5 separate regions of the Homo sapiens genome follow, and all the other regions are linked to region 1. Evidence: promoter capture Hi-C in 16 types of primary human blood cells and fetal thymus (Javierre and others, 2016). All regions are on one chromosome and are shown on one strand. Each heading gives the region's core, a stretch centred on a gene start or on the middle of the fragment in contact. The rest is flanking DNA. Distances are from core to core; before and after follow the strand shown. Region 1 holds the start of CENPW (centromere protein W). Region 2 overlaps RSPO3 (R-spondin 3). Region 3 overlaps LOC105377989 (a long non-coding RNA gene). Region 4 overlaps RSPO3 (R-spondin 3). Region 5 has its middle 2.5 kb from the start of RNF146.

Region 1 (2,833 bases), core at 327-2,826:
TTCATTTGAATTCCGTTCATTTGTGCCACCTCTATCACCAGCATGGGATAGTTAATTGGGGTCGGGGCACAAGACAGCCTGTATTGCCTCTTCTTACAAGATTTAAGAAAGTAACAAAAATAAGGGCAGAAGATAGAAGTAATACTTTTCTGGGGGAAAATGTGTTTTTGTTGTGTTTTGGCTTCAGAGACCAAATAAGGGGAAAGGGGCGATAATTCTATAGTAGTTTAGAAAAGGAAGCAACAGATGGGGTGGCAGTGGAGAAGTCCAGGAAGCAAAAGAGTAAAGAGGAGGTAGAAAAACCAATGTCGTTTAAGAACAGCTAGGATGATTCATGCAGTATGCTCTTATTATCCACAATTCTGTACCTTGATCTCCTGGAAATTATGTGTCCATTTATAATGGCTCCTTTACTCAAAGAGCCAAGGACAAGCTACCGAACATGCCTCCAGTGGTTTAAACCTAGAGAAATAGTGTTCATTGTGCCAGAGGAATATGTGTTCCAGGTATTCAACACACAAACTGAATTTATTTCAAGACAGAAACATTATTATACAGTGGTTTGATTGGGGCTTCTTATTAGGAGAACATTATGCTTCAGGTATTATGGGTCAGATAAGCAGGCTTTAGTAGTCTAGCTTAAAAACTGACTAGGTGTTCTATTACTTGTCTAGCGAAATGAATTAACAGTTGAGAGGACTCTTCCTACAAATAAACTTTCCCATCAGGGTCCTTTAGTAAGCACCCTCACCTAGAGGAAATAAGGCAATGTTTGGTTAAATGCGTAAATAGAGGAGAGACGGAGGGAGCCAAGGGAGGAAAGAGGAGACAGGGAGGGAGGCAAGAAGGGAGGCCCTTAAAAGGCATGTGAGCAATGCCTTTTACAATAGCTAAATAAAAATGACCCAGACTGAATTCCAAAATCTATTTTTTAAAGGGTGATTCTTTCATACCCTTTGCAAGTACATTAATCACGGTGCCAGATTGTGTTCCTAAACAGCAATATTTAAAACTGTAAGCAGTAACTGTACGTTAAGCTCATGTGACTAACAGTCTCCCTTTAAAAAGATCCAGATATTTACTTTTCGGCGCGGCCCGGTACAACTGAGCGCCAGGAATATGAACTGACATGCCAGGGTGGGGCATACGTTCCCTGTCATTGTTGGAACTGCCTTAAACAGGGGCCTGAAAGAGCTATAAATTGGCTCGGGGCGGAAAAACAAAGGCTTAAGGTTATTGCCCTTACCTCTCCCGTGCCCCATTCCCAGCCCGAGAAGGGATGGAATCTCACCAATAAGTCACCACTTTTCTCCAGACGAAGTTGAGGCTTCTTTCGCTTGAAGACTCGCTTTAGAAAGCCACGGGGAGCCTTCCGCTTTATCTGCTTCCTCTGGGAGACTATGGTCGACAGCGCCATCCTCTCTGTCAAGTACCAGCTGCCTCAGCTTCCGAGGTGCTCTCTGTATCGCACACAAGCTCCGGGGACACTGGGCCAGCGAAAACAATCCGGTCCGTATGACGCTTCTTCAGGCAGAAAAACCTCAGTCCGAACGTTCGAATCCGCCGCCAACGGAACGCGCCCGGCGCTCAGTAGTGACGTTAACCCTGAGCAAGCCCCGCCCCCGGAGACGCCTGCCTGTAGGTGGAAAACGCCCACGGTGGGCGGGTCCCGGGAATACCTGACGTCATTGAGAGCCTGCGTCCTCCTTTCATCACTTTCTGTATTATAACTTTTGCTCTGTGGAAGTGTTTCTGCTAGGTTCCCTAGAGATGATTGGAAGTTGTGGAGAGAGAGATTGGTAAGCCAAGGCAGTTCTTCAAGCACTCACTCTATACTGTCCCTAATACCAACGAACAGAAGTTTGTGATGTTTTATCAGGATTCCGACAGCACTAATGCCATGCCTTCCTAGCAAGGAATGCATGATTTTCAGATACTAACAGTTAAGAATTTTACACTTCTACGTAATTTCATTTGATCTTATCTTAGGTCTTTTCATGATTCTAGCTTTTCTTTACAAATGCTGCTCCCTTTAATTTTAAGGTTCCTCTCACTTAACCTTGCAATAACTTTCAGGTATAGTTTCATGCTAACTCACTGAACTTTTTGTTATTTCTTCAAGCTGTTAATTTCTCTATTATCTGTGCTATTATAGAAGTATTAATAGTTATCAAACCTTAATGTGCATCAAAATCACCTGGGGGACTTGTTAAACTACTGTTCGCAGGGCCCAGCTCCCAGTTTCTCATTCACTAGATCTAGGAGATACTCAAAATTTGCAATTCTAACAAGTCAGGGACATTGGCATTTGCTAGTCTGCAGACCAATCTTTGAGATCCGCTGTGATTTTAATTATAATTATCTCTAATACTATCTCTATTGAGATTTCAATATTATGTTATTGTGATCTCACGCACACAAGTGATCCTTCTACTATCTGGCCTCCCATTTCTGAGACCTCCTCTCTGCCAGTCATCTTCTACACCCTTGAGTTATTCATGCATGTGGTCATACCCTAGGCGGTGTCATTACTAAATACCTTTACCTTCGGTTTGATCTGCCACTTTCAATTTAGTTGTCTCTCTTCAACCGTATCTTCTATCTTTTGAATTTACTCCCTCCAACAATTCTTCGATGCTACTGGGACTACTGTCCTATCTTTTTCAGTTCCTCTCACCACACCCCCCAGCTCTGCCACCCCACTCTATGCCTTATCTTCCCTCCTGTAGTCCATTATGCATCGATCATCATAATACTGCCCTGTATTTCTCCACAACTTTATAGCCATTCTCTTTTATCCTCACACTAACCTGGCAATATTCCAACTCTGCTT
Region 2 (2,850 bases), core at 283-2,782, 790 kb before region 1:
ATACTCCCAGGATCAGGGGGCTGGTGTTGGGGGAGAGGGGAGATTCCTGGTTACACAATTTTAAGCAACCCTAGAATTTCAGGGGTTTTCCTGCTAGAATATGAAGGGTTTGTATTAACAAAAAGGTATTTCAGTGCCCAGAGCAATTCAAGTAAAGTGTTTGAACAGCCACTTTAGTTTATTGCTCTTGTAAAAATGACTCTCCATTTGCTTCAGGTTTAAAGTAAAGGGATTATTTAGGTTTCAGAGACCCAGTAAATAAATTGTCTATGAGGAAAGAAATTTGTACAAGAAGTGTGTGAAGAGACACACCAAACTTATTCAGTGCAATGGTTCTCAAGGTGCTTGATACATAGGAATGACTTGATCCTCCATGAGTTGCTAAGTAGTCAGCATGAAAGAGCTAGTGGGGGGAAAACTGACATCTGCCAAGATAAATGCAGCACTGTTTTATAAATTAACTCGGCTGTCTGTGTCTTTATTTTTTCTTTGGAAGATTATAAAATTAAGACTGTTCAACTCATCTTAGTAGTGGTTTAGAATTTGTGGAGTGGATGAGGAAGTGAGTTTGAGCTAGGAAGGGTGACGAAAATATCCTGCACTGGAAAATCTTGGCAATTTTCATTTGAATGTGTTCTTATCTGATGACCTAGAGCACTTCAGCCCAACAGCTTGTGAATTAAATAGTTTGGGTAAAAACTATTACATGAAGGTTTCTTGGATCGTAGGCTCTCCTTAGAGCACATACTCAGTTCAGAGGCAAACAGTTTAAAATGAATTCCTGGAATGTCAATGGGATGTCCACATGGATACTGAAGATGGTAGTTATAGCATGAAATTGTTTGGAGGTTCTCTTGCTGCAACTCTCCCTTATTCTGTTAGAAACTAAACTTTGGGGTATGGTCACATAATGCCCACAGGTTTAAAAACACAGGCTGGATATGATAGCAAATGTTATTGATTGTACTAGGGCCAAGTATGCATCTATGTGATACTGCAAGCCTAACTGGCCTCCAAGGAAATCCCACTGATCTGTGTTAAAAGCTTGGATCTACATTAAGCTCTGGATAGAACTGGAAAGTTGGCTGGATGTCTTAGAAATGTGCTATATGAAAGAAAGACTGTCCTTTTAAAATTATATTCAGTCTTTGTGGAGGGGACTGAGAGTTACCATCTTGAGGATGGCATGAAATGAGAGTGTGTGAATTAAAGTCAGAGGGGCTAAGGATACCATGTTTGGACCTTGTTCCTTGTTACCAAACAAGCAACGAGGGTCCTTTTGGACTCCATATAAAAAAAAACTCATCATAAATTGAAAAACAAAACTAAATTCTATAAGAAACAAATATGTAGCTTCTCAGTATGTCCTCAGTTTGTGGCCAAGCAGCATTTGTCCATACCGTTTGTATTTTATGGCAGAAACTACATGACCAGTGGTACAAGTAAACACAGCAAAAAATTTTGCTAAGTTTTTCCAAAATTAGGATTCTTCTATTCTTTGGTTATCTTATTGTCAATTTAAGATGAAAGAAAATTAAATACATTGTTCCACAATATTGGCCATAGTGACAATCAGGTCATGATAACTATTAGATGTGTGCAGTGCACAAGGACAGGGTTTATTTGTCTGCCAGATGATACCTGGAGATTTCCAGTTGCCAGAAAAAGCTGGCCAGAAAAAGAGTTTGACTTCCTGTTTGTAGATTTAAAATAAGCAATATCACTCATCCACATATTTAAACTGAGAACTGGTAGTCTAAGCTCAAAAGAGTGCTGAAATATACTGAAGTCATTCTGAACCATAAAGGAATTTGAAACTTACCACTGTAAGGACAGTGTCTTTGTTCAATTAAAGATCCGTTACATAAAGTGATGGAGTATCTTTTCTGGGTATCCAAGCCAATGGTTTCAAAGGCAAATTTTTACTTTGGGTATTGAGCAAGAATACTTTTGTGCTACTTGAGTATTTTCCTAGGGAAAGGTTTAACAATCTTTTAATTTCTCAAATATTGAAAGCTTAAAATTATAGCACCACTTACTTGTTGATAATTTCTACTTAGATACTTACAACACCATGTTTCTAAAGTGAATTATTTTCAGTACAAGAAATCATAAGTTTGTTCTAGCTCCAGATATTTTAGAATTGCTTGTCTGATATAATGTACTACCATTTTCTTGTTGCCAAATGTTACTTCAATAATATGATATTTAAGTTGACCTAAGGATGTTTACAAGAATTCCTTCCCTTCCATTTCCATGCTAGTCAGACACCTTCTTTTATGAACTTAGACTAGATTCTTTGAGTTCTTTATCTACTCAGGAAGGGAGGAGGAGAACTTGTAGTGATGAATTGGGAGTTCTCTATGTGGGCACGTACATTCACACAGGCAAACAAGGTGGTTTATGAGGATAGTGACATAAACTGCACATACTGATGACGTATTTCCATCTCTTGCACGCTTATGGTAAATAACCTATTGGGAAAAAAATTAGTGAAAAAGCATTGTTTTCTGGTATATTTCCTACTCTCTGGAACTCATGATTGCTCTCCATCCTTAGGGACAATTAACTAGGTCTGACGTTGGAGCAATGGCTAAAGCTCGCTGTGATGACCTTCCTCCCAAGGAGCCTGGCTTTCTTCAGTCTAATTACTTTTGGCAACTGCGGTTATTGGGATTTGGCCTAGTGACTCATTGGAACCCATATTATCCCAAAGAGCCCCCTTAACTAGCAGGATTAAGTCTGTCAGGAAGCCCAGACTTCCACCCCACTTTTACATGGAACTTTCCCCAGTTTATGGCAAGATTTGAAAATCCTTCATGGACTAAAAAAGACTCATAAACACGATTT
Region 3 (2,874 bases), core at 344-2,843, 740 kb before region 1:
TGGGATTACAGGCGTGAGCCGGTCCCAGTGCTTTATTTTTATTATGAGAAATATTATTTGACATTTCAACCTCACTTTAGTTCTCAGTTATTAAATATTTTCTAAGAACAAGGTGTGGCTGCTTAGTTTTCTCTGAAAATGGAAGAGATGTGGATTAGCTAAGTAAAATCAGTGTTATGCCACTGTGATTAACCCCAAGACTGACAAACAAAAATTTCAATTGGCCATCCTATGTGACCTTAAATAATCTTTCTTAGCTGTCATGCTACTTTTACACTGCTAAGTTATCTCTGCTTGGCTTGGACCTATTCATATGACACAATTACACATGACAAGCCAAGAACAAATAATATCAAATGCATACTAACATTTCCTAGTCTTTTGGTATTCAACAATCTTGGGAAAAAATAATAGATGGGAAAATCTTTCATATACCAAAATTGTATTATATATTATATACACTTATTTTAAGTAAAATAAACCCACATCAAATGATATATTTAAAAAATATTTATCTATACTTATTACAGAAGTAGCCATAAAGGGCAGAAAGAATACATAGCTCATCTTGCTGAGTGGGAGAAAAAGCCATCAATTGAGGGGCATACAAGTTATGCTGGATCTAATATGGCAAAGTGACCAATGGAGAAGAGGTTGAGAATACAGCATTTGTTGAGATGACAAACCCATGAGTTCCAGGGAGCACTGTGAAAAAGTTGACAAGGCATGGAAGCTTCAGTTAGACCAGTGGATGTGCAGATCCAAGTTGGGGTACAAGTTCAGTTGATGCATAAGGAGTAATGGGGCAGGTCAGAGAGGGCCTATTATGCCACTGTATGGGCTTAGGATATTACTCCAGGTAAGAGGGAGCCATTGGAGCATTTTGAGCAGAAAGTCTTTCTCTGGCCTCTTTTGAGAAAGGAAGTAAGGAAAAAGTGTGAAACAGAGATACCATTTAGGAAATTTTTGCAACAATCCGAGAGGCAGACAATGTCAATTTAGGATAAGGTGGTAGAGATGGTCATGGCTATAACGGATCAGATTCTGGAATCATTTAGAAAGTAGAACCAAGAAGATTTTCTCAAGGATTGGATATGGAATATAAGGAAAAGAGAGGAATTAAGCACGACTCGAAAGTTTTTGTCCTGAGTAACTAGAAGGAGGAACTTGTTATTAACATATATGATAAAGACTGTTCAAAGAGCAGGGTTTGGGGAAGAATATCAGAAATTCATTTTGGAGTTTTATGTTTAAGAAGTAAATTAGACATCTAAATGGAAATGCTGAGTAGGCAGTTGGATATACAATTCTGTAGAGGAGTACTTCAGGAAAGATGTATGGGCAGGAGTATAAATCTATGAATTCACTGTGTATAGGTAGTAAAAGAGAGGAAAAGATGAGCATCGTTTTCTTTTTCTGATGCTCTTCCCAGGAACAAAACTTCCTAAAATAAAAATGTAGGTTCTGGCTGGGCGTGGTGGCTCACGCCTGTAATCCCAGCACTTTGGGAGGCCGAGGCAGGCAGATCACGAGGTCAGGAGATCGAGACAATCCTGACGAACACGGTGAAACCCTGTCTCTACTAAAAATACAAAAAAATTAGCCGGGTGTGGTGGTATGCGCCTGTAGTCCCAGCTACTCGGGAGGCTGAGGCAGGAGAATGGCGTGAACCCAGGAGGCAGAGCTTGCAGTGAGCTGAGACACACCACTGCACTCCAGCCTGGGCGAAAGAGCGGGACTCCATCTCAAAAAAAAAAAAAAAAAAAAAAAAAAAAAAACAGAGGCTCTAGTAAATTTTATTTACCAAGACCTGATTTCAGGCTGGGTGAGATCTGGTGGCACGTTGGAATCTAGTTTCTTCCTACAGGTCTTCAAGACTGTGATGAGTTCAACAAAAAGTAGATTAAGCTCCTTTGAAAGGCAGGATATACATCCTAAATTAAGAAAAAACATGTACTACTGCTATTAAGACAGATTTGTTGATGGTGCTTAGAAGTTTTTCTCATCAAGAATCAGAAGCCCAGTAACATTTCCATTCATTCACTTCCTGATTGAGTCATTCATTCCTTAGCCAGAAACACTCATTAAGTACCTTCTATGAGGAACAGGATGGACAACACTTGGTGTGGAATAATGTAAGGTGTGAGGGAGAAGGAAGATTCTTGCCAAGACTTCCGAGATGTTTAGCTTGGGTAGTGCCTTTTAACCAAGATGGAAATAGCAGCAAGGAGTAGCAGGACAACTGCGTTTGTATAGGAAATTATATTTTTACCTCTTAAAATCAAGAAAATTATAGGCTACTCAAATGAACTGTCTAGTAGGCAATTGTTGGAGTGTGTTCAGAGCTCAGGAGGATATTAGGAATGGAGAGATTCCAGGCCAGAAACCCTGGACCAATTTTCTCCCAGATCATAGCTATATTGGATCTTTCTTTTTTCTAGATCTAAGCTTAAATGTCAATTCCTTAGTGACTTTCCTTTCTCCTACCTTATTCTCTTTATGTCCTGTTCTTCATGGCTCTATATCATTTAATTTTTCTTATTTATTTACTTACTTGTTTGGCGTATTTACATATTTAGTGTGTGGCTGTAGTACTCTACTTTAAGTTTCAAGATGGTGATGACCATGATTATTTTATTTCAGCTAACATAAATGTCTGGGACATAGTGATCAACAAAGCTGTGTACAATAAATGAATGGGATATACAGTTGGGAATTTATAGCATATCACTGGCAATAGAAGCCCAGGATATTAATGAAATTTCTAAGGTTAACAAAGAAGAGGACCAGTGAAATAATCTGAGGACACTTCAACATCAAAGTAAGACAATAAGGAAGTAATCATTAAGGGGATTTTAAATAACAAAAAGAGAG
Region 4 (2,700 bases), core at 51-2,550, 850 kb before region 1:
TTTTACAGGCCATGTGTTAGTGGTTGGAAATGCTAACTACCCTTTGCATAAATATATTTTCTGCTTGTGTAAGAAATAAAATAGAAATACACAAGAGTGGCTGTAGTCCATTAAAAATCACGTGTAATTTGGGATAATTTTGTAAGGTTTTCATTAAAGGGGACTTCCTTTTTTATTCTGGTGACTTTTCATTGATGTGGTTAATATTTTTTTCAGGCTTTTTTGGCAATTTTGCAAACTAAGCATTCCAGTTATGACAATCTGACATATATACACACACATATATATATACACACACACGTGTGCTTTGCCATTCACTGAATATTCATGTTTGTGTGCATGTGTACACGCACGTACCTGCCTGAACTGGGTTTTGGAACATTCTAGTGATTAAAACAGCGTTCATCTCCCCTTGATGTTCTACCTATGAGGGTGTTTGGGTAGAAAACATCAAAGAGAATTTGCTATTAGCAGTCAAGTACAATCTGAGCCCTTGCAGAGAAGCACTATGGTGTAACATTTAAGTACACTGTCCTTAGGGCCAGAAAAATGCTGTTTTCAAATTCTAGGTCTGCCACCAACTAGTTGTGTGAACTCTGGCAAGTTGTTGATATTTCTCAGGATTAACTCTCTGATATATTTAAAATGTGAATAATCCTTACTTCTTGCTAAACTTCATAAGGATTAAATGAGATGCTGGTAGAGCATTTAGCATGGTGACTGGCATATGTTACTCATGGGACAAATGAAAACTAATATTATTAACCCCTTGCACAAACATGAACAAAGCCCCTACTCTGTGCCAAAAATGTGTGATAAAACCTGGGGATATAAGTTAGATATGGAGACTGCCAATAATTATAGTCACATGTTAATGCTAAAATAGAGGTGTGTACAAGGTCCTGTTGGGGGTACAGTGGGAAAGCATTGAACTCCATGAAGAGAGACTGAAAATGATTTCAGAGACTGAAAATAATTCCCCTGATGTAATGATGTTTGAGGTGAGCCTAAAAGAATGACTGAGAGTTTGCTAGGCTGATGAGGGAAGAAGTGCATGCCAGGCAGTGAACATGCACTAAGGCATGCAAGGACATGGTGAATCTGGGGCATTGAAAGTCAACTTCCTTGGTTTGATCAGAGTCTATATATAGAATATTACCCATAGAAGCTGGAAAGATATACGGGCTTCAATTGCCATGTTGGGAGTTTGTCCTGAGGACCAGTGTACTGAAAACTAGAGAAGGGCAAGTATTGAATTCAGATAGCAGGCCAGAGTTTGGATGTTTCTGTGATGAGTTTAGAAAAGGCCAATAGGCTATTCTTACATGTTGACCTTATTTCCTATTTCAGAAAATTGCTGTAAGTAATAAGATGCTGTAGAGGGAATGTAGTCAGTGGTTGGTATTTTTGAGCCTTAATTTTTGAAAGAGTAGCTAAAATCTCCATGTAGACCAAAAAGCCATATTTAAGATTTTGTTGCATAGTAGTATCACATAATTGAATTGATAATTGTTATTTTTAAGATTCTGAAATTATTTTCTGTTAGTATAAACACATACAGTCTTTTACATAAACATTTCCTATGGCCTTCTGCAGACAATGTTCCAAAACATATAAAAATACAGATTCCTAGATCCCACCCTTGGAGATTATGATTCAGTGGTTCTTATGAGGGGCCCAAGAACCTGTAGTCAACAACAAGTTCACACCCCTCCCCCCCAGTTTATTTTGATGTGCAACCACATTTAAAAGCCAAAGCTGCAGAGCAACAGAAGACCCAATTTCTTCAAATATATACTCTCAAAACTTACTTCAAATTGCATGGTTGCTCCTTTGTTTCTTTCATTTTTCCTAATGAATATCAAATACGTTTTTGACTTACTGTAGCTACTAATTTTAAGGCAAGTTTTCTTAATAGATAAATTTGGAATAGGCACCCAGATATAAATTAAATTAATTGCAGGTTATCTTTTTAAAACCTGTTCAAGTGCATATATGAACTAGAAAAAATAAACATGTAAAAAATGACAAAGAGAGTGATCCTGAATTATTCTTCCTAACTTGTATATATTTAAATTCCAAGTGAAAATGCAAACCATAGAACACGTTCAATATCCTTTAAACATAATGAGGTTATGAAAAAAAGAGTTGCTTTCCCTAGAATCACAACTGTAATTCACTTATTGAGAACCACTTAAATTATGAATAGCAGCTATTTTCTTGATGTTTGGATAAAATCTGTCTATAGGTCTTCATAAAAGCTGCTGCTTTGTGAATTTCTTGCGAAGTGTCACTAAGGGGAGCCATTGAGCTGTAAGTAGTTCACTTCCCAAGACAAACTAGGTTATAATTTTTACCCAAATGCTAAAAATGTATTCCACATTACAGACTGAGGACTAAATATCACGAATTATATGACTCAAACCAATTAAATAAGTATTACATTTTTCTTTTCTTTTTATTTGGTGTGGAATGAAATTCAACTGGAAGCCCATGGCTTTATGCCTTCTATAAAGCACTCACAGTGTGAAAAAGGGGTTGATCTTATTATTTTTGAATCTGGAATTGGACCTGATTATTATGTATAGAGAATGAAAATTCCAGCTTTTGTTCTTTTTTCTTTTTTGTTTTTTGTTTTTGAGACGGAGTTTTGCTCTTTTTGCCCATGCTGTACTGCAATGGCGCAGTCCTGGCTCACTG
Region 5 (2,798 bases), core at 169-2,668, 920 kb before region 1:
TAACTTTAAGCTTAGTTTTCTATCTTTATCTTCTTATTAGCCACTCAGTTTTGTCCCTCTATCCTACACAGCCCATGAACAGAGAATAGCTAAAATTTGATATGTACTCGAAGATTCCAGCTTGAAGAGGTAATGCTAATATTAACTAACAATGTGCCAGGTGTTGCTCTAAGTGCTTTATTCATATATACCCACTTAATTCTCATAATAAACTATGAGGTAGGCACTATTATTATTCCCATTTTACAGAGAGAGAGACACACACAGCTGAGATTTGAATCCAGGCACAGACTGTAAGATGTCAGCTAGTTCAACCCCTTCTCACTCATACCCAAGGTCTTTGTATTTCAGTAAATGGTTGCATCTTTCCTTGTTCAAACCCACCTTTAACTCCTCTCTTTTATGTCTTATATGCATTTGGCATATAACCTGTTGGCTCTTCCTTCAAAGTATATCCAACTACTTACCACCTCCGCTACAATCTGCATCATCTCTTGTTTGGATTATAGTGTTACGGTAGACCAGGAACTAGTCTTTTGACTCTATCCTTAATACAGAATCCTAAATAAATCTACTTAAAAAGAAGTGAGATCGTACCACTCCTTTGCTCAAAGTCTCCTGTGGCTTCCCAACACAAGTAAAAACCAAAGTCCTAACGATGGCTTTAAAATCCTCCCCTCATTACCTCTTTGACCCCACAGACTGTTTACCCAGCTTTGTATTCCCAGAAAGCTCTCCACAAGCTGCCAACCTCATAGTCTTTGCAGTTGTGGTTTCCTCTGCTTAGAACACTCTTCCCCATCATGCTCCCTCCATATGTGCTCAGATGTCCAACTCTTCAGTCAGTCCCTCTACTTGTCAGCATATTTTAAGTCATGATGTTTCCATTCCCAATATTTCATATTTCCTCCTTTACTTTTTAATACTTATCACAGTGTAATGGATAATTTATTTTACTTACTAATCTTCATCATATTTCTCATCACATTAGGACGCAAGACACAGGAGGCCAGGAATGTGTGTTCTGTTTTGTATCTCAACTGCCAGGAATAGTGCCTGACACACTTAAAGAGGTTCTCTGTAAATATGTGTTACATGAATGAGTAAATGAATGAATGAATGAATGAATACACACATGGCCGGGCAGTAGCTCACGCCTGTAATCCCAGGACTTTAGGAGGCCGAAGTGGGCGGATCACGAGGTCAGTAGATCAAGACCACCGTGGCTAACACAGTGAAACCCTGTCTCTACTAAAAACACAAAAAAATTAGCTGGGCATGGTGGCACGCGCCTGTAATCCCAGCTACTCGGGAGGCTGAGGCAGGAGAATCGCTTGAACCTGGGAGGCGGAAGTTGCCCGAGATCGTGTCACTGCACTCCAGCCTGCACTGCAACAGAGCAAGACTCCGTCTCAAAAAAACCCCAAAAACCACATTTGTGTATGTGAGTGTGTATATATATCCCCATTTATATATATATATGAATATATATATATCTCCATTTATATATATATATGAATATATCCCCATTTGTATATATATATGAATAAAAGTGAACTTCTCATTTTTCAGTAGTTGCATATGAAAAGCAGAATTGAATGCATGGAATACTATACACCCTACCTCCATCAGCCACTTGAAAGAAAGATAGAAGTTTATATCTTTGAATAACACAGGACAGCACCTCTCAACATTGTCAGAGTGCTGGTTTCCAGTAATTAAGAGTAACTGGTTTCCAGTAATTTTAAGTACCAAAACTTCAAATTATTTGCTTAAATAAATCAGAGCCTAACAGTTTCAATGTATTTCTGTAATAATGTTACTGTCACTGGGATTCCATTTTGCTTCATTGAATCAAAGGTAAAGAAGTTGCAGCTGACTGCTAGGAATTACCCAGTTGCCTGTTTGCTTATAGCTTATTGTCTATTTCCCACAACTTACAAAATACTTTGCTGAATACCACACATCTCCAGGCACCTACTCTTCTCCATTTATCCTTCCAACACTCAAAAATTGTCCAATGTTATTTGTTTTACTTAAGGATCAAAGCATTTTTTTTTGTTTACTTAATATCTGAAGACATCCATGAAAATGCATGAGAAAATGATGTGTTACAATAGAATGTACGTTGAAACCACTCGTGGCTAGTTTAGGGCGGCGGTGTTCCAAGTGTTATCTAGTGACCCATAGGGGTCCTTTGACTCTTGCAGAGTGTCTGAGGGAAAATTGTTCTTATAATAATACTAAGACTCTAGTTGCTTTGTTTACTTGCACTCTCAAATGTACAGTGGAGTTTTCCAGAAGCTACATGGTATGTGATGTAGCAATAGATTGATTATAGAAGCAGATATGAGAATTTGACTATATCTATTAAACCAGTCATTAAAACGATGTAAAAAAAAAAAAAAAGTAAAACTGCACTCTTCTTTCATTCAGTTAGCTTTGTTTTGGAAAATGTAGTGTTTTTTTTTTTAATAAAGTATGTTAATACAATGAGTCATTTTTAAATGAATTAGTATATATTGTAAACCATTCTCAATTTCAACTTTTAATTTGGTAAATATTGATTAGCTCATAAAAGTTTTTTGGGGTCTTCTATAAATTAGCACTGTCAAAGGGTCCTGAGACCAAATAAGAATGCTTGTCTGGGGCTATTTTGCTTACCAACTCTAAGTTAAATTTCTTCCCTTTTCACATGCCGGCAACCATCTGATAGCTGTGGACACAACTTTCTCATATGCCTGGAAACAGAACAAACCAGATTCAGGAATGTACCAGTCATTATAGCTAGCAGATGA

The links. The method cuts DNA at HindIII sites, captures the fragments that hold promoters and counts their contacts. A CHiCAGO score of 5 or more calls a contact.
Region 2: a contact is called between a fragment that was not itself captured here and the fragment with the promoter of CENPW in region 1, in 3 of 17 cell types (M1 macrophages, monocytes and endothelial precursors). The highest score is 6.3, in M1 macrophages.
Region 3: a contact is called between a fragment that was not itself captured here and the fragment with the promoter of CENPW in region 1, in 1 of 17 cell types (endothelial precursors). The highest score is 5.6, in endothelial precursors.
Region 4: a contact is called between a fragment that was not itself captured here and the fragment with the promoter of CENPW in region 1, in 2 of 17 cell types (monocytes and M0 macrophages). The highest score is 7.6, in monocytes.
Region 5: a fragment that was not itself captured here is called in contact with the fragment with the promoter of CENPW in region 1 in 1 of 17 cell types (M2 macrophages); the score reaches 5.5 in M2 macrophages.

The regions. Positions count from the first base shown.
Region 1 is chr6:126,338,858-126,341,690 of GRCh38, reverse strand. It overlaps CENPW (centromere protein W), which reads right to left and starts at 1,576. Exons shown (of 3, transcript NM_001012507.4): 1 at 1,292-1,576. The coding sequence starts at 1,417. RefSeq lists enhancers at 1,357-1,406, 1,417-1,686. The HindIII fragment of the contact is 14,002 bases long and covers 1-2,833 here.
Region 2 is chr6:127,129,288-127,132,137 of GRCh38, reverse strand. The region is part of intron 1 of RSPO3 (R-spondin 3); the gene reads right to left. The region is part of intron 3 of LOC105377989 (a long non-coding RNA gene); the gene reads left to right. Among named protein-coding and RNA genes, the nearest start is that of RSPO3, 12 kb to the right of the region's middle. The HindIII fragment of the contact is 972 bases long and covers 1,047-2,018 here.
Region 3 is chr6:127,077,290-127,080,163 of GRCh38, reverse strand. All of the region lies in intron 4 of LOC105377989 (a long non-coding RNA gene), which reads left to right. Among named protein-coding and RNA genes, the nearest start is that of RSPO3, 40 kb to the left of the region's middle. The HindIII fragment of the contact is 1,715 bases long and covers 736-2,450 here.
Region 4 is chr6:127,190,368-127,193,067 of GRCh38, reverse strand. All of the region lies in intron 4 of RSPO3 (R-spondin 3), which reads right to left. The region is part of intron 1 of LOC105377989 (a long non-coding RNA gene); the gene reads left to right. Among named protein-coding and RNA genes, the nearest start is that of RSPO3, 73 kb to the right of the region's middle. The HindIII fragment of the contact is 4,554 bases long and covers 1-2,700 here.
Region 5 is chr6:127,263,006-127,265,803 of GRCh38, reverse strand. No RefSeq gene overlaps it. Among named protein-coding and RNA genes, the nearest start is that of RNF146, 2.5 kb to the left of the region's middle. The HindIII fragment of the contact is 2,811 bases long and covers 13-2,798 here.